Regions from separate parts of the Homo sapiens genome. Here regions 1, 2, 3 and 5 are each linked to region 4. The links are contacts of gene promoters, found by promoter capture Hi-C in blood cells and fetal thymus (Javierre and others, 2016). All regions are on one chromosome and are shown on one strand. The core of a region is centred on a gene start or on the middle of the fragment in contact, and the rest is flanking DNA. Distances in the headings are between cores, read along the strand shown.

Region 1 (2,700 bases), core at 75-2,574, 200 kb after region 4:
AGGACCAAAATAGCTTATCAACGTGAGAAAGGACTTCAGAGCTTGTCTACTGCCAACCCTCATTTTACCCAATGAGGAAAGTGAAGCTATTAGGGGGCGAGGGACACGTGGAAGGTCACACAGCACACAGGAGGTGATTCACATGTAGATTTCAGCACCTGCTCCTGCCACGCTGGACTGGTTCACCTCCTAGGCTGACCCTGCCTCTCCCCTGTTCACACACACTCTCGCACACACACACACACACACACACACACACAGGTGCTTTGTTCTGGCCAGGGGTTCCTAGGGTCACCTCTTGGTTGCAGCCACTGTGACCCCAACTGGTCTAACCTCTCTCTTCCCCTCCCACTTCCTTCCTGTGGTTCCTGCAGGAGATGTTCGGGAGCATGTTTCACGCAGAGACCCTGACCGCCCTGTGAGGGCTCAGCCAGTCCTCATGCTGCCTACAGAGTGCCTGGCACTTGGGACTTCCATAAAGGATGAGCCTGGGGTCACAGGGGGTGTCGGGCGGAGGAAAGTGCATCCCCCAGAGCTTGGGTTCCTCTCTCCTCTCCCCCTCTCTCCTCCCTTCCTTCCCTCCCCGCATCTCCAGAGAGAGCCTCTCAGCAGCAGGGGGGTGCTACCCTTACAGGAGTGAGAGTCTGGTGAGCCCACTCTTCACCCGTCAGGCCCTGGCCGCAATGGACAAGCCTCCTGCTCACTCCACCCCACCCACCTCTGCCCTGTCCTTGGCAGCTGAAGGACACCTTGACTTCCAGCTTTTACGAGTGAGCCAAAAACAGAAGGACAAGTACAACTGTGCTGGCCTGCTGTACAAGCTTCAAAAAGTGTCCCAGAGCCCACACGGCTCGGTGTCAGATGGTGTCAGGCTGTCACGGACATAGGGATAAACTTGGTTAGGACTCTGGCTTGCCTTCCCCAGCTGCCTCAACTCTGTCTCTGGCAGCTCTGCACCCAGGGACCATGTGCTCTCCACACCCAGGAGTCTAGGCCTTGGTAACTATGCGCCCCCCCTCCATCATCCCCAAGGCTGCCCAAACCACCACTGCTGTCAGCAAGCACATCAGACTCTAGCCTGGACAGTGGCCAGGACCGTCGAGACCACCAGAGCTACCTCCCCGGGGACAGCCCACTAAGGTTCTGCCTCAGCCTCCTGAAACATCACTGCCCTCAGAGGCTGCTCCCTTCCCCTGGAGGCTGGCTAGAAACCCCAAAGAGGGGGATGGGTAGCTGGCAGAATCATCTGGCATCCTAGTAATAGATACCAGTTATTCTGCACAAAACTTTTGGGAATTCCTCTTTGCACCCAGAGACTCAGAGGGGAAGAGGGTGCTAGTACCAACACAGGGAAAACGGATGGGACCTGGGCCCAGACAGTCCCCCTTGACCCCAGGGCCCATCAGGGAAATGCCTCCCTTTGGTAAATCTGCCTTATCCTTCTTTACCTGGCAAAGAGCCAATCATGTTAACTCTTCCTTATCAGCCTGTGGCCCAGAGACACAATGGGGTCCTTCTGTAGGCAAAGGTGGAAGTCCTCCAGGGATCCGCTACATCCCCTAACTGCATGCAGATGTGGAAAGGGGCTGATCCAGATTGGGTCTTCCTGCACAGGAAGACTCTTTAACACCCTTAGGACCTCAGGCCATCTTCTCCTATGAAGATGAAAATAGGGGTTAAGTTTTCCATATGTACAAGGAGGTATTGAGAGGAACCCTACTGTTGACTTGAAAATAAATAGGTTCCATGTGTAAGTGTTTTGTAAAATTTCAGTGGAAATGCACAGAAAATCTTCTGGCCTCTCATCACTGCTTTTCTCAAGCTTCTTCAGCTTAACAACCCCTTCCCTAACAGGTTGGGCTGGCCCAGCCTAGGAAAACATCCCCATTTCTAACTTCAGCCAGACCTGCGTTGTGTGTCTGTGTGTTGAGTGAGCTGGTCAGCTAACAAGTCTTCTTAGAGTTAAAGGAGGGGGTGCTGGCCAAGAGCCAACACATTCTTGGCCCAGGAGCATTGCTTTTCTGTGAATTCATTATGCCATCTGGCTGCCAATGGAACTCAAAACTTGGAAGGCGAAGGACAATGTTATCTGGGATTCACCGTGCCCAGCACCCGAAGTGCCAAATTCCAGGAGGACAAGAGCCTTAGCCAATGACAACTCACTCTCCCCTACTCCACCTCCTTCCAAGTCCAGCTCAGGCCCAGGAGGTGGGAGAAGGTCACAGAGCCTCAGGAATTTCCAAGTCAGAGTCCCCTTTGAACCAAGTATCTAGATCCCCTGAGGACTTGATGAAGTGATCCTTAACCCCCAAGTAATCATTAACCCCCAGACCAGCCTCAGAACTGAAGGAGATTGTTGACCCAGTGACCTGGAGTTGAGGCTCAGGGAGAGATCTGCCACATGTCTGAGGGTTGCAGAGCCCGCTGTGGAGGTAAGATTGGAAACACATGAGGCAGAGGGAAGACATTGAAGAAAACATCTCTGCTGGAATATTTGGAAAAGAACACTCTTCTGGACCTGGTTGAAGCAGGAAAGATGGAGGCAAAGTAGTGAAATAATCCAGAATTTCAATGCTTTTGAATGTTCTTAGTGATACTGACCTGTGATAATATAATTCCCAGGGAGGACTGGGAACCTTATCTCTTGAGATATTTGCATAATTTATTTAATTTAAGCCTCATTCTCCTTTTGTTCATTTT
Region 2 (2,700 bases), core at 102-2,601, 240 kb after region 4:
AGCTGCCTTGGGAACCAATGACAGCATGCTCAGCCCCCTGCTGCCAAAACTGGGGCCCAAAGGCTAGCCCACCTGGCATCCTAGTCCCTAGCAAAAACTTCACCACAGCCTCCACTAATAACTGCACCCTAAGTCACTGAGGAAATCACAGATACCACTGATTGTATTTACAACTGAAAAAAACCATAGAAAGATTATACCAGTGCACTCACCCAAAATCAAAGCCAAAGTGCCCTACCCGCCGAAAACACATATACATCCTGAATAAATACTCCTCTATGAAAGCAAATACAAAAAATTGGAATAAGCAACTGTTACACTAGGTGCACAGATGTCAATGTAAAGGCACAGGAAACATGAAAAAGTAAAGGAATCTAAATGTTTTCTTGGACTGTTTGTTTTTACATAAAAAAAAGAAAAAGTAAAGGAATCTGATACTTCCAAAGGAACACAATAAATCTCCAACAGCAGATCCCATAAAAGAAATTATGAAATCCCAGATAAATAATTCAAAATACAGAGTTTAAGAGAGCTCAGAGAGATGTGAGATAATTCTGAAAAACAATACACAGAAATAAAAAAACAATTCAGGATATGAATGAGAACTTTACTGAAGAGATAGTTTTTTTTTTATTCTGGAACTGAATAATTCATTGAATTAAATACAAAATACATTTGAAAGCTTCAATAGTCTAGATCAAACAGAAAAAAGAATTTCAGAACTTGAAGACAAGTCTTTTGAACTAATCCAGGCAGATTAAAATAAAGAAAAAATTAGAAAGAATAAGCAGAGCTTTTGTAACCTTTGGTACAACATAAAGTGAACAAATATTCAAATTACCACTGTCCCTGAGAGTGAAGAGAAAACAAAGGGTTAGAAAACTTATTTAACAAAATATTAGTTGAAAACTTCCCAAATCTAGCAAGAGATCTAGATATCCAGATGGAGGAGGCCCAAAGATTCCCTAACAAATATAATGGAAAAAGATCTTCTCCATGGCATATTGTAATCAAACTGTCTAAAGTCAAAGCAAAGTATAGAATACTAAAAACAGTAAGAGAAAAGCAACTAGTCACCTATAAAGAAACCCATATCAAAACCTTGCAGGCCAGGAGAGAATGGGATAACATATTGAAAGTGCTGGGAGAAAAAACCTGCCACCCAAGGACACTACATCCAGCAAAATTCATAAATGAAGGAGAAACAGTTTTTCCCAGACAAGTAAATTCTGAGGGAACACACCACAAGACCAGCCCTACAAGAAATGTCCAAGGGAGTCCTGAACTTGGAAGTGAAAGGACATTTACCATAATAAAAACACACAAAAGTATAAAACTCACTGGTAAACCAAATACATAAATGAGGAAGAGATAGGACTTAAGTGGTACCACTACAGTAAACCACCAAACCACAATTACTATCAACAAGAGGGAAGAAAAGAACAAAGAATATACAAAACAACCAGAAAATAATTAACAATATGACAGTAATAAAACCTCCATATCAATAATAGCCTTGAATGTGAATGAATTAAATTTTCCACTTAAAAAATATAGACTGGCTGAATGGATAAAGAAACAAAATCCAACAAAATAGTGCCTACAAGAAAGAAACATCTACACTCAAAGGAATGGAAAAAGATATTCCATGCAAATGGAAACCAAAAGCAAGCAGAAGTAGCTATACTTATATCAGATAAAATTAAGTCAAAAAGAGTAAAAAGGGCTGGGTGTGGTGGCTCACGCCTGTAATCCCAGCACTTTGGGAGGCTGAGGTGGGCAGATCACTTGAGGTGAAGAGTTCAAGACAAGCCTGGCCAACATGGCAAAACCCCATCTTTACTAAAAATACAAAAAAAAAAAAAAATGTGCCGGGCATAATGGCAGGCATTTGTAATCCCAGCTACTTGGGAGGTTGAGGCACTGGTATAAAAACAGACACATAGACCAATGGAACAGAATAGACAGTCCAGAAATAAATCCACACATTCACAGCTAACTGATTTTCAATAAAAGCTTCAAGAACATACACTGGGGGAAAGATACCCTCTTCAATAAATGATGTTGGGAAAATTGGATATCTGTATCCAGAAGAATGAAACTGGACCCTTTTCTCTCCCCATACACAAAAATCACTGAAGATGGATTAAAACTGTAAACATAAGACCCGAAACTATAAAACTGCTAGGAAAAAACATAGAGAAAATATTTTAAGACATGAGTCTAGGCAAAGATTTTATGGCTAAGACCTCAAAAGCACAGAAACTATAACAAAAATAGACAAATGGGACTATATTGAACTAAAAAGCTTCTACACATCAAAGGAAACAATCAACAGAGTGAAGAGACAACTTACTGAATGGGAGAAAATATTTGCAAACTATTCATCTGACAAGGGACTAATAGCCAGAATATACAGGAATATCAAACAACTCAACAATAATAAAAAAACAAATAATCTCATTTAAAAGTGGGCAAATGACATGAATACATATTTCTCAAAAGAAGACATACAGACTGGGCATGGTGGCTCACATCTGTAATCCCAGCATTTTGGGATGCCAAGGCAGGAGGATTACTTGAGGTCAGGAGTTTGAGACCAGTCTGAGAAATATACTGAGACCCTGTCCCCACAAAAATTTAAAAAATTAGCCAGGCATGGTGGTGCGCACCTGTAGTCCCAGCTACTCAGGAGGCTGA
Region 3 (2,700 bases), core at 177-2,676, 180 kb after region 4:
GAGGTCATCTCAGCTATCCCCCTGCCTCTAGGCAAGCTGTTTTCTGTTTCTTCCAAGCTGACTGGCTGAATGGTAGGAGCCTTTCTGCCAGGGAAACTGAGGTCTGGGAAGGGAGTATGGCTTGTGGGGACACCAGGGGTCAGGGGAGGGGAGGGTCCACCTGCTGAATCAAGTGGGGCCTCCTGCCCTCGTGATTCCCCTTTGCCTGGTGCTCAGTGGGGGTGATGGTGACGCCACAGGTGTGGAGTGCCAGCCACGTGCTGAGCGCCAAGCAAAACAGCCAGGGTGAGTCTATGCATCATCAGTGCCTGGGAAGGAAGGCCACTGCGAGCAGGGAGTCTGACGGAAAAACTTGACAGAGGGAAGGGAGGCACCTTGCTTTATCGGGGCGGGGAAGGCCAGAATAAAACTCTGCTACTGCAAGGACCAGAGAGAGAAGGCCTGGGCTGGCACTAGGGAGGGATGTTCCCTCACCCTCCCCTCCTCTGCTTCTCCCAAAGCTTGTAAATGCCCCAGATATGAGCCAGCCCAGGCCCCGCTACGTGGTAGACAGAGCCGCATACTCCCTTACCCTCTTCGACGATGAGTTTGAGAAGAAGGACCGGACATACCCAGTGGGAGAGAAACTTCGCAATGCCTTCAGGTAACTGGTCCAGAGCCCAGACTTCTGCCTCCTCTGCTCCCTACCAAAATCCTTTCTGCACCAGGACACGGCTTCTGCACTGGTATCCCTAAGATGGGGTTAAGGGAAGCCCTGGGGAAGTGAGGTTCTGAATGATGAATTTAAGATCCTACAACCTCATCTGTACTGAGACCCCCAGGGAGGATGGGGAGCAGGAGCAAGAACCATCCAGAAGGGTTATATGGCATTCCCAAACCCCTGCATGGCATCTCCCATATTCTCAATTCACCCGGGTCTCTCTGGGTTTGTTAAGGCATGGTAGATGAGCATCTACGTTATGGAGGGGTGGGGAGCATCAGAGCCCTTACTCCATGCCCTGTTCCCTCCTTACAAAAAATACCTGAAGTTACCATCACCCCAGGTTCTTTGTCCTTTCCCTCCCGGATGTTCCTTCCTCCACTTGGTCCAGAGAATGCCAAAAGGAGGCCCTAAATTTCTGAACTTTCCTGAGGGGACCTACCAGGGTGTAGTCCTACCAGCGCCCAGGGTCTTTCCACTCTCATCTCCCTGGAAATGCGATGGTGGGTATGAAACCTTGTCCCTAAGTAGGCGCTACACAAGGTGATCCATACCCACACCCCAGGAGGCTGGGGCTGCGGGTGTCACCCTCCCCATTCCCAGACTCCTGGCAGACCTCCTCTGGCCCAGCTATAGGCCAACTCACTCTCCCTCACTCCCTTGGGGAAACGGCTGATTCAGTTACCTGGATTGAGGTCACTGGCAATGGCTGAAGTGGAGACGCAGGTGGAACTGGTTCAGGCCGGGGGAATCACCCACTTGAGTTTGTACTAAAAGCCCCAGCCCAGCCCTGTTTCTCTTGGGAGGCTCCATTTCTGCCCAGTTACAGTCTGTCCTCACAGCTGTGCTCCTCAGACAGGTGGTCTCTGCCAGTCTTTGTGCCCAAGACTTTAGGGCACAAAGTCTGAGGATGAGAAGATCTGCTATTGTCCTAAAAGATTAGGATAATGAAAGCTGTAAAGGGATATAGCAAACTAACAATTCCTATGATACTGGCATGAGAGCCTTGAACAGTGCCTGGCATAGAGAAGGTGCACCAATAAATATTTGTTTCATGAATGAATGAATGAATGAATGTCTAGAAAGCTAATCCCTCTCAGCCTCTGTTTCCAGTTCTTCTTTCAAGCTTCAGATTGCTTTGCCCAACATACAGCAGACTTGCAAGTAAGGTTGGGCATGGACTAGCCCTCAAATGAGTTGTTTTTCTTTCCCTAGCCAGCTCTCTATTCATAAGTCCGGCTTTCTCTGCCACAAACAGACCTGATGGAGCCCCTGCAGGGCTGGTTCTCTCTTCAAGCAAGGCTTTAGAGTTGCATTAAGCAATTTATCCCCCGTCCACCTCCCCTTCCAGCATCCCAGGGATGGCAGAGGCACCCATGAGCCCCAGAAAGGACAGGGGGTAAGATATTGATGATGATGCTTTTTCTTGGAGTGTTAGTTGGAAGAGAAAATCTGCCCAGACTTTCCAAGGTACAAAGCATTGTCTTTGTTGGTTTCAGTCTTGGGTGACATCCAGGGGACCGAGTGTCAGGGAAACTATTGTTGAGCAAGAGCAAAGAGCAGGAATTGGTGCTGGGCAGGAAAGGAAGCCTCATCAGAGCAGGCCAGTGAGTCACCAAATGGGCCCTAAGTATTTGAGTTCCCTCAACTGGGAGAAGGAAAGCAAATGCCCCTCACCCACTTCCAGTCATCAATCCACCGGCTGTCACCCTTGAGTTTGTAAGCCCTTGTTCCTACCGCTCCTGAGTTTCTATGAAAGGACCTTGAGGTGTTCAACAAACAGGGAAGGGATCAACTCTCCCCACCCTGCGTTGACCAATGAATTCTTCCCTCCTCTGCTGCCCAGTGAATTAACAGGAGAAAGAACTCCGGTATTGGAGTTACCACACATAAAGGATAGTGAGTCAGCAGAGTGCACCCTGCAGGAACAATAGAGCCTTCCTTTTCAAGGAAGTTCTAAGAAAAATGGCAGCAGGCAGGCCCCACTCGGGTGTATTCAC
Region 4 (2,700 bases), core at 11-2,510:
CCCGGGTTCACGCCATTCTCCTGCCTCAGCCTCCCCAGTAGCTGGGACCACAGGCGCCCGCCACCACGCCCGGCTAATTTTTTGTATTTTTAGTAGAGATGGGGTTTCACCGTGTTAGCCAGGATGGTCTCGATCTCCTGACCTCGTGATCTGCCCGCCTCGGCCTCCCAAAGTGCTGGGATTACAGACGTGAGCCATCGCGCCCAGTCTGTCACTCCTAACTTCTAATCTGCTCTAGGGAGAGTCCCAATAGTCCATCTTGCATACTGAAGATTAAGTGAATTTCACAGCCAACACCACACAATACCTTCTCTATTGAGCTGTAAGCTGCCTCTGGACTGGATGGTGTTTTGTTTTTATTTTTACCGTCAGCACCAGTGCCTCTCACATAGAATTTAGCCAAGCCGGTTAGGTGTTAAGTGCTGCTGCTGCGCTGTCAGAAGGGCACACGGGGCTGGTTCTAGACCGGCCTCTGCTGCTTACTCGTTCAGTAATCTTCTACAGCAAGTTCTTGAACTTCTCTGGGCCTGTTTTCTACCTCGCCGAGTGGTTAACTGCGTTTAGGATCTTGGAAGCACCTAAGCACGAAAAGCACATAGGCCAGAAGTTAAGATGTCCCTTGGGGACGCAAATACCGGGAATTTCTCCGGCTGTTCCCACCGATCAAGCACCAGGGCTCTCAGGTCTAGCTCCTTCGTCTCCCCACCCCCACATATACCCTCACTTTTTCTTCCTTTCCCTATGCCTCGCAGTCCCTCAACAGGGTCTGCGGTCAGACGTCACTCCCAGGTGACTGGCAATCAGGGATGCCGCCTCGCTCACCTGGCCACCCTTGAAGATTGTGGATCCTGCACCGGCTAGCCGGCTGGCAGAGGGCGCGCCAACAGCCGCCAGCCGAAGTGCCCCCGCGTAGGTGGGAGGAGTGACTGCCTCTCACCATCCCCCGGGGATGCACCTGTGGAGAGACGGCCCGAGAGTTCCAGGGTGAGTGCGCAGAGGAGCTTATCTGCCTGCCTGCGGGTCGGTGTGTCCTGCCGGCTGCTGGGCGCTGGCCTGCGTCGCCTGCTTGTCTCGCTCCCTGTCCCTCGTCCGCTACCCCCTCTGCCCCCCCTCCCTCCAGCAGCCGGCCTCTCGGTCATCCCGCCGGGTGGGTGCCTGCGAACCTCACTCCTCCCTCCTCTGCAGGAGCCAACTGGCGAGCCGCAGGCCGCCGGGCTCGGCCTGGGAGCCCATAAAACCCGCCCGAGCCGCGCCGCTGCGCTCCAGCCGCTGCTCACCAGGCAGAGCGAGCGGGCTTGGCTGGGGCTTCCTGCCCTGAGCGCGACACCGACTGCCCCGGACCGCGCCTCCAAGCAGGCTGAAGGGCTTCCGCTCTTGGCTTCCAGAAAAGTTTGGAGAAAGAGAATTTGAGGCGGATTGGAGGGTGGTAGCCCCTCCCCAGCCTTCTTTCCCTCCCAGAAGCCTCACTCTGCACAGCGTCCCCCATTCTTCCCGTCCTGATTCCCCATCTTCCTGACCCCTCCTTCTCCCTCTCCTGGGTCGATCCCAGTCACATTTTCTCCTTCCGAATCTCATCCTCCCTCCTCCTCTCTATCCCAGTCCTCTGAACGATTTCCGCCTATTTGCAAGCCTTCTCCCTGTCATTCTCAACGCTTCTCCTTTCTCTCCACCTCCCCTGCCACTCCATTTTATCCATCAAACCTCTCCACTTGCATCCACACCCTCCCTTCATCCTTCCCTCCCAGCAAACCTTGCTCATGGATTCTGGGCCTCTGTGGGATGCCAACCCCACCCCTCGGGGCACCCTCTCTGCCCCCAATGCCACAACACCCTGGCTGGGCCGGGATGAGGAGCTGGCCAAGGTGGAGATCGGAGTCCTGGCCACTGTCCTGGTGCTGGCGACCGGGGGCAACCTGGCTGTGCTGCTGACCCTGGGCCAGCTGGGCCGCAAGCGCTCCCGCATGCACCTGTTCGTGCTGCACTTAGCCCTGACAGACCTGGCCGTGGCGCTCTTCCAGGTGCTGCCACAGCTGCTGTGGGACATCACCTACCGCTTCCAGGGCCCCGACCTCCTGTGCAGGGCCGTCAAGTACCTGCAGGTGCTCAGCATGTTTGCCTCCACCTACATGCTGCTGGCCATGACGCTGGACCGCTACCTGGCTGTCTGTCACCCCCTGCGCAGCCTCCAGCAGCCAGGCCAGTCCACCTACCTGCTCATCGCTGCTCCCTGGCTGCTGGCCGCCATCTTCAGCCTCCCTCAAGTCTTCATTTTTTCCCTGCGGGAGGTGATCCAGGGCTCAGGGGTGCTGGACTGCTGGGCAGACTTCGGCTTCCCTTGGGGGCCACGGGCCTACCTCACCTGGACCACCCTGGCTATCTTCGTTCTGCCGGTGACCATGCTCACGGCCTGCTACAGCCTCATCTGCCATGAGATCTGTAAAAACCTAAAAGTCAAGACACAGGCCTGGCGGGTGGGAGGAGGGGGCTGGAGGACTTGGGACAGGCCCTCACCTTCCACCTTAGCTGCCACCACTCGGGGGCTGCCATCTCGGGTCAGCAGCATCAACACCATCTCACGGGCCAAGATCCGAACAGTGAAGATGACCTTTGTCATCGTGCTGGCCTACATCGCTTGCTGGGCTCCCTTCTTCAGTGTCCAGATGTGGTCCGTGTGGGACAAGAATGCCCCTGATGAAGGCA
Region 5 (2,700 bases), core at 200-2,699, 160 kb after region 4:
GGCAGGGATTTATTGGGCATGGGGGAGCTTTCTGGAGTCATCCTCATGTTCCGCACCTTGATAAGGATTTGAGATGCACAGGTGTAGGCGTTTGTCAGAACTCATGTATGGCACATTGGAGAATTGTGCATTTCCTTGTATGTAAAACTTATCTCCATAGAAAAAAATAACTGTGACAAATATTGAACTTTGTTAATGATATGATGCTGAAGTATTGGCCTAAATGGCTACTGATGTCTGCACCGTGCTTTGAAATGCTTCCAAAAATACAAGGGATCGATGGATGGATAGAGGAATGGGTAGTTGGGTAGATATGTGTTCTGCAACACAGAACAAAATGTTAAGGGAAGACTCTAAGTGGTGGGTATACGATGTTCATCATAGAAGTCTTTCAACTTTTCTATATGTTGGAGAAAAATTTTTCATGATAAAATGTGGAGATAGGAAGAATTAGGGGCAGAGAATCATCCTACCTCCGTAGGACCCTCTCAGCTCCTCTCCCAAGGCCTTGGTTTGTTTGCTTTGGTGGAGCAGAGGCCAGCAGCTGTTCTGTAGCTCTCCTCCCTGGCTTCCTTCTCACACTATCCCCTGTGTTCATTTGCTTGGGCAGTCCCAATAACTGCTGTAGATGTCACTGGACCGCCAGACACATGGAAATCTGCATCTCACAGACCCCCCACCACTTCACTGTTCTGAGAGCCAAAGGGTCCTGCTTCCCAGGTAACCACTTGCCCAGCAGGCAAGTAGCCCCCCTTCTCTGTATTCAAAGCCAAGAATGCTCTTTCTCTCCCACTCCCAGGCATAGACATAAGCAAGGGGTATATTTCCTATGTGCCTCTTGCTTCATTCTTTCATTGCTTTTCTTTCTGCCTGGGCTTGAAGGCTTTCACCAGTAAGGTTTTACACATTATTCATCCAGCTACTTCTAGGCAAGTCCACTTGAACTGTCTCTACCAGCCCCACCCCCACCCCCTTCACCAGAGGATAAGCATTTTTTTTATGTTTATAGAAACTATCATACACCCTTCAGAATATTCCACACCATCCAGTCTCTGATCTAATACCCATACCCTGGGAAGCTTTCCTTTGTGTCTAACCTGAATCCTGCATGCTGCTTTTCTATAGAAGCTGAGGGGCCTGGGGCTTGGGGTCTGTGGTTCTTGATCTGGGTGTGCTCATGTCAGGTGTGCAGGGCTGTGTTTGTGTAATTGGTGGGGCAGCAAAATCAGGTGCACTAGGGTCAAACCAACCTTTCTTCCCTACTGGCCCTTTATCCTACACTCCACCCAGGCACCTGGTGTGGCTGGGCTACTTGAGGTGAAAGAGCAAGTCCCCACCCCACCCCCACCCCAGTCTCCCTGGGCTAAGGACTTGTCTCAGATGACACTTCTCCACCCAGAGGACAGCCTAGTGTGGTTCACCTTGGGTTAATCCATCTGGAAGCAGCAGCCCCAGGACACCTCTTCCTCCCCAAACCCCAACTTCCTCAGACAAATCTAAGCCCACAGAACAATTTACCTTACAGTCTTAGAGTAAGGGCAGGAATTGGAATAGGAACCAGGTATGTGACAACAACAAACTCTCTACTTGGTCTGGGAGAGGCCGGCATGTCTTTCACATTTACAGAAGAAGAAACTGAGACCTCAGTTGGTGAAATGTCTCCCCCAAAGTCAACACAATTCCCTCTTCTCGAAGCCATCCTCAATGTTCACAACTTCCTGAGTGTAAGTCACAAACCATCATTTTTCAGCCTGGCAGTGTATAGAAATAAGAGCACAAGGCTAGAAGTCAGGAACCCTGAGAGCTAACCCAAGCTTGGGCATATCCTAGGTGGGGGTAACGGATCCTCAGTCTCCACATATGCAAAATGGGGATAAATAGCTTCAGATAATGCATACTAAAGCACTCTATAAACTCTAAGTGCCCTACAAATGCAAGGAACTATTAAAGCACTATTTTTTCTTAACCTCGATTAGTAGCACAACTTCATCTATCACCTGCTTACTATAAGAGACAATAAGAGGGGCCTGGAAGTTACTAAACCCACAGGGTTCTTTCCTGATCCAAAAGACCTCCAATGCTTGCTTTCTCTTCTCACTCTAAGCAGGAGACAGAGGTGAGCCAAGCAGGAAGACTATGCCCTCATCCAATGAGGCTTAACTTATGCTGGGGCATTAATTACCAAGCTTCCATTGTTAAAGATGCACAGGGCTAGGTGACCTGGAAGACCCTATACTAGAATCCAGAGTCTGGGTAGGTCTGATGAGCTAGTGAATCAAAGGTCCTCCAGACCTCTATTTACAGGAAAGGAAGAGTCCCTGTGATCAAATCCCTTGGTGCAGAGAAGAACTCAGGAAATGGGCTTCTATGACCTCTTTCCCCAGCTAGGCCCTTGGGTTCCATCCAGCCCTTAGAGAGGGGGTTGGGGGGACGGTGCAGGACTACAGCAGAAGCAGAAAGAGCTGTTCTCACCAGGGACTTAATGAGACTCAGGACCCATGTGTGTGTTAAAGACTAATGTCCCATTATAAAGAGAACCTCAATACAGTAGATTACAGAATATAGGAGTTTTTCTCTTCTTGGGACACTAGTGAGTCTCAAAGTGAGCAGTCCTGGCTGCTGGCATTCTCAGCTTCCTGAGGTCATTCACAGGCCCAGGTTCCTTCCCCCTGTTGCTTTCCCACTTGCCAGGCCATTGTT

The links. Contacts are between HindIII fragments. The CHiCAGO score rates a contact against its expected background, and 5 or more counts as called.
Region 1: a contact is called between a fragment that was not itself captured here and the fragment with the promoter of AVPR1B in region 4, in 8 of 17 cell types (M0 macrophages, endothelial precursors, M1 macrophages and 5 more). The highest score is 18.1, in M0 macrophages.
Region 2: a contact is called between a fragment that was not itself captured here and the fragment with the promoter of AVPR1B in region 4, in 5 of 17 cell types (M0 macrophages, M2 macrophages, M1 macrophages and 2 more). The highest score is 6.7, in M0 macrophages.
Region 3: the fragment with the promoter of SLC26A9-AS1 here is called in contact with the fragment with the promoter of AVPR1B in region 4 in 10 of 17 cell types (M0 macrophages, erythroblasts, M2 macrophages and 7 more); the score reaches 11.8 in M0 macrophages.
Region 5: a fragment that was not itself captured here is called in contact with the fragment with the promoter of AVPR1B in region 4 in 8 of 17 cell types (erythroblasts, M0 macrophages, M2 macrophages and 5 more); the score reaches 8.4 in erythroblasts.

What each region holds. Positions count from the first base shown.
Region 1 is chr1:205,913,079-205,915,778 of GRCh38, reverse strand. SLC26A9 (solute carrier family 26 member 9) reads left to right here. Exons shown (of 21, transcript NM_052934.4): 21 at 375-2,700. The coding sequence ends at 422. Among named protein-coding and RNA genes, the nearest start is that of SLC26A9-AS1, 20 kb to the left of the region's middle. The HindIII fragment of the contact is 1,001 bases long and covers 824-1,824 here.
Region 2 is chr1:205,876,910-205,879,609 of GRCh38, reverse strand. All of the region lies in intron 1 of PM20D1-AS1 (PM20D1 antisense RNA 1), which reads right to left. Among named protein-coding and RNA genes, the nearest start is that of PM20D1-AS1, 16 kb to the right of the region's middle. The HindIII fragment of the contact is 1,334 bases long and covers 685-2,018 here.
Region 3 is chr1:205,933,639-205,936,338 of GRCh38, reverse strand. SLC26A9-AS1 (SLC26A9 and RAB7B antisense RNA 1) reads right to left here and starts at 1,426. Exons shown (of 4, transcript NR_110984.1): 1 at 1,386-1,426; 2 at 572-731. SLC26A9 (solute carrier family 26 member 9) reads left to right here. Exons shown (of 21, transcript NM_052934.4): 2 at 501-643. The coding sequence starts at 519. The HindIII fragment of the contact is 1,326 bases long and covers 503-1,828 here.
Region 4 is chr1:206,115,948-206,118,647 of GRCh38, reverse strand. It overlaps AVPR1B (arginine vasopressin receptor 1B), which reads left to right and starts at 1,260. Exons shown (of 2, transcript NM_000707.5): 1 at 1,260-2,697. The coding sequence starts at 1,758. AVPR1B-DT (AVPR1B divergent transcript) reads right to left here and starts at 865. Exons shown (of 3, transcript NR_186693.1): 1 at 823-865; 2 at 308-578. RefSeq lists a silencer at 146-440. The HindIII fragment of the contact is 5,056 bases long and covers 1-2,700 here.
Region 5 is chr1:205,951,956-205,954,655 of GRCh38, reverse strand. All of the region lies in intron 2 of SLC26A9-AS1 (SLC26A9 and RAB7B antisense RNA 1), which reads right to left. Among named protein-coding and RNA genes, the nearest start is that of SLC26A9, 9.8 kb to the right of the region's middle. The HindIII fragment of the contact is 735 bases long and covers 1,082-1,816 here.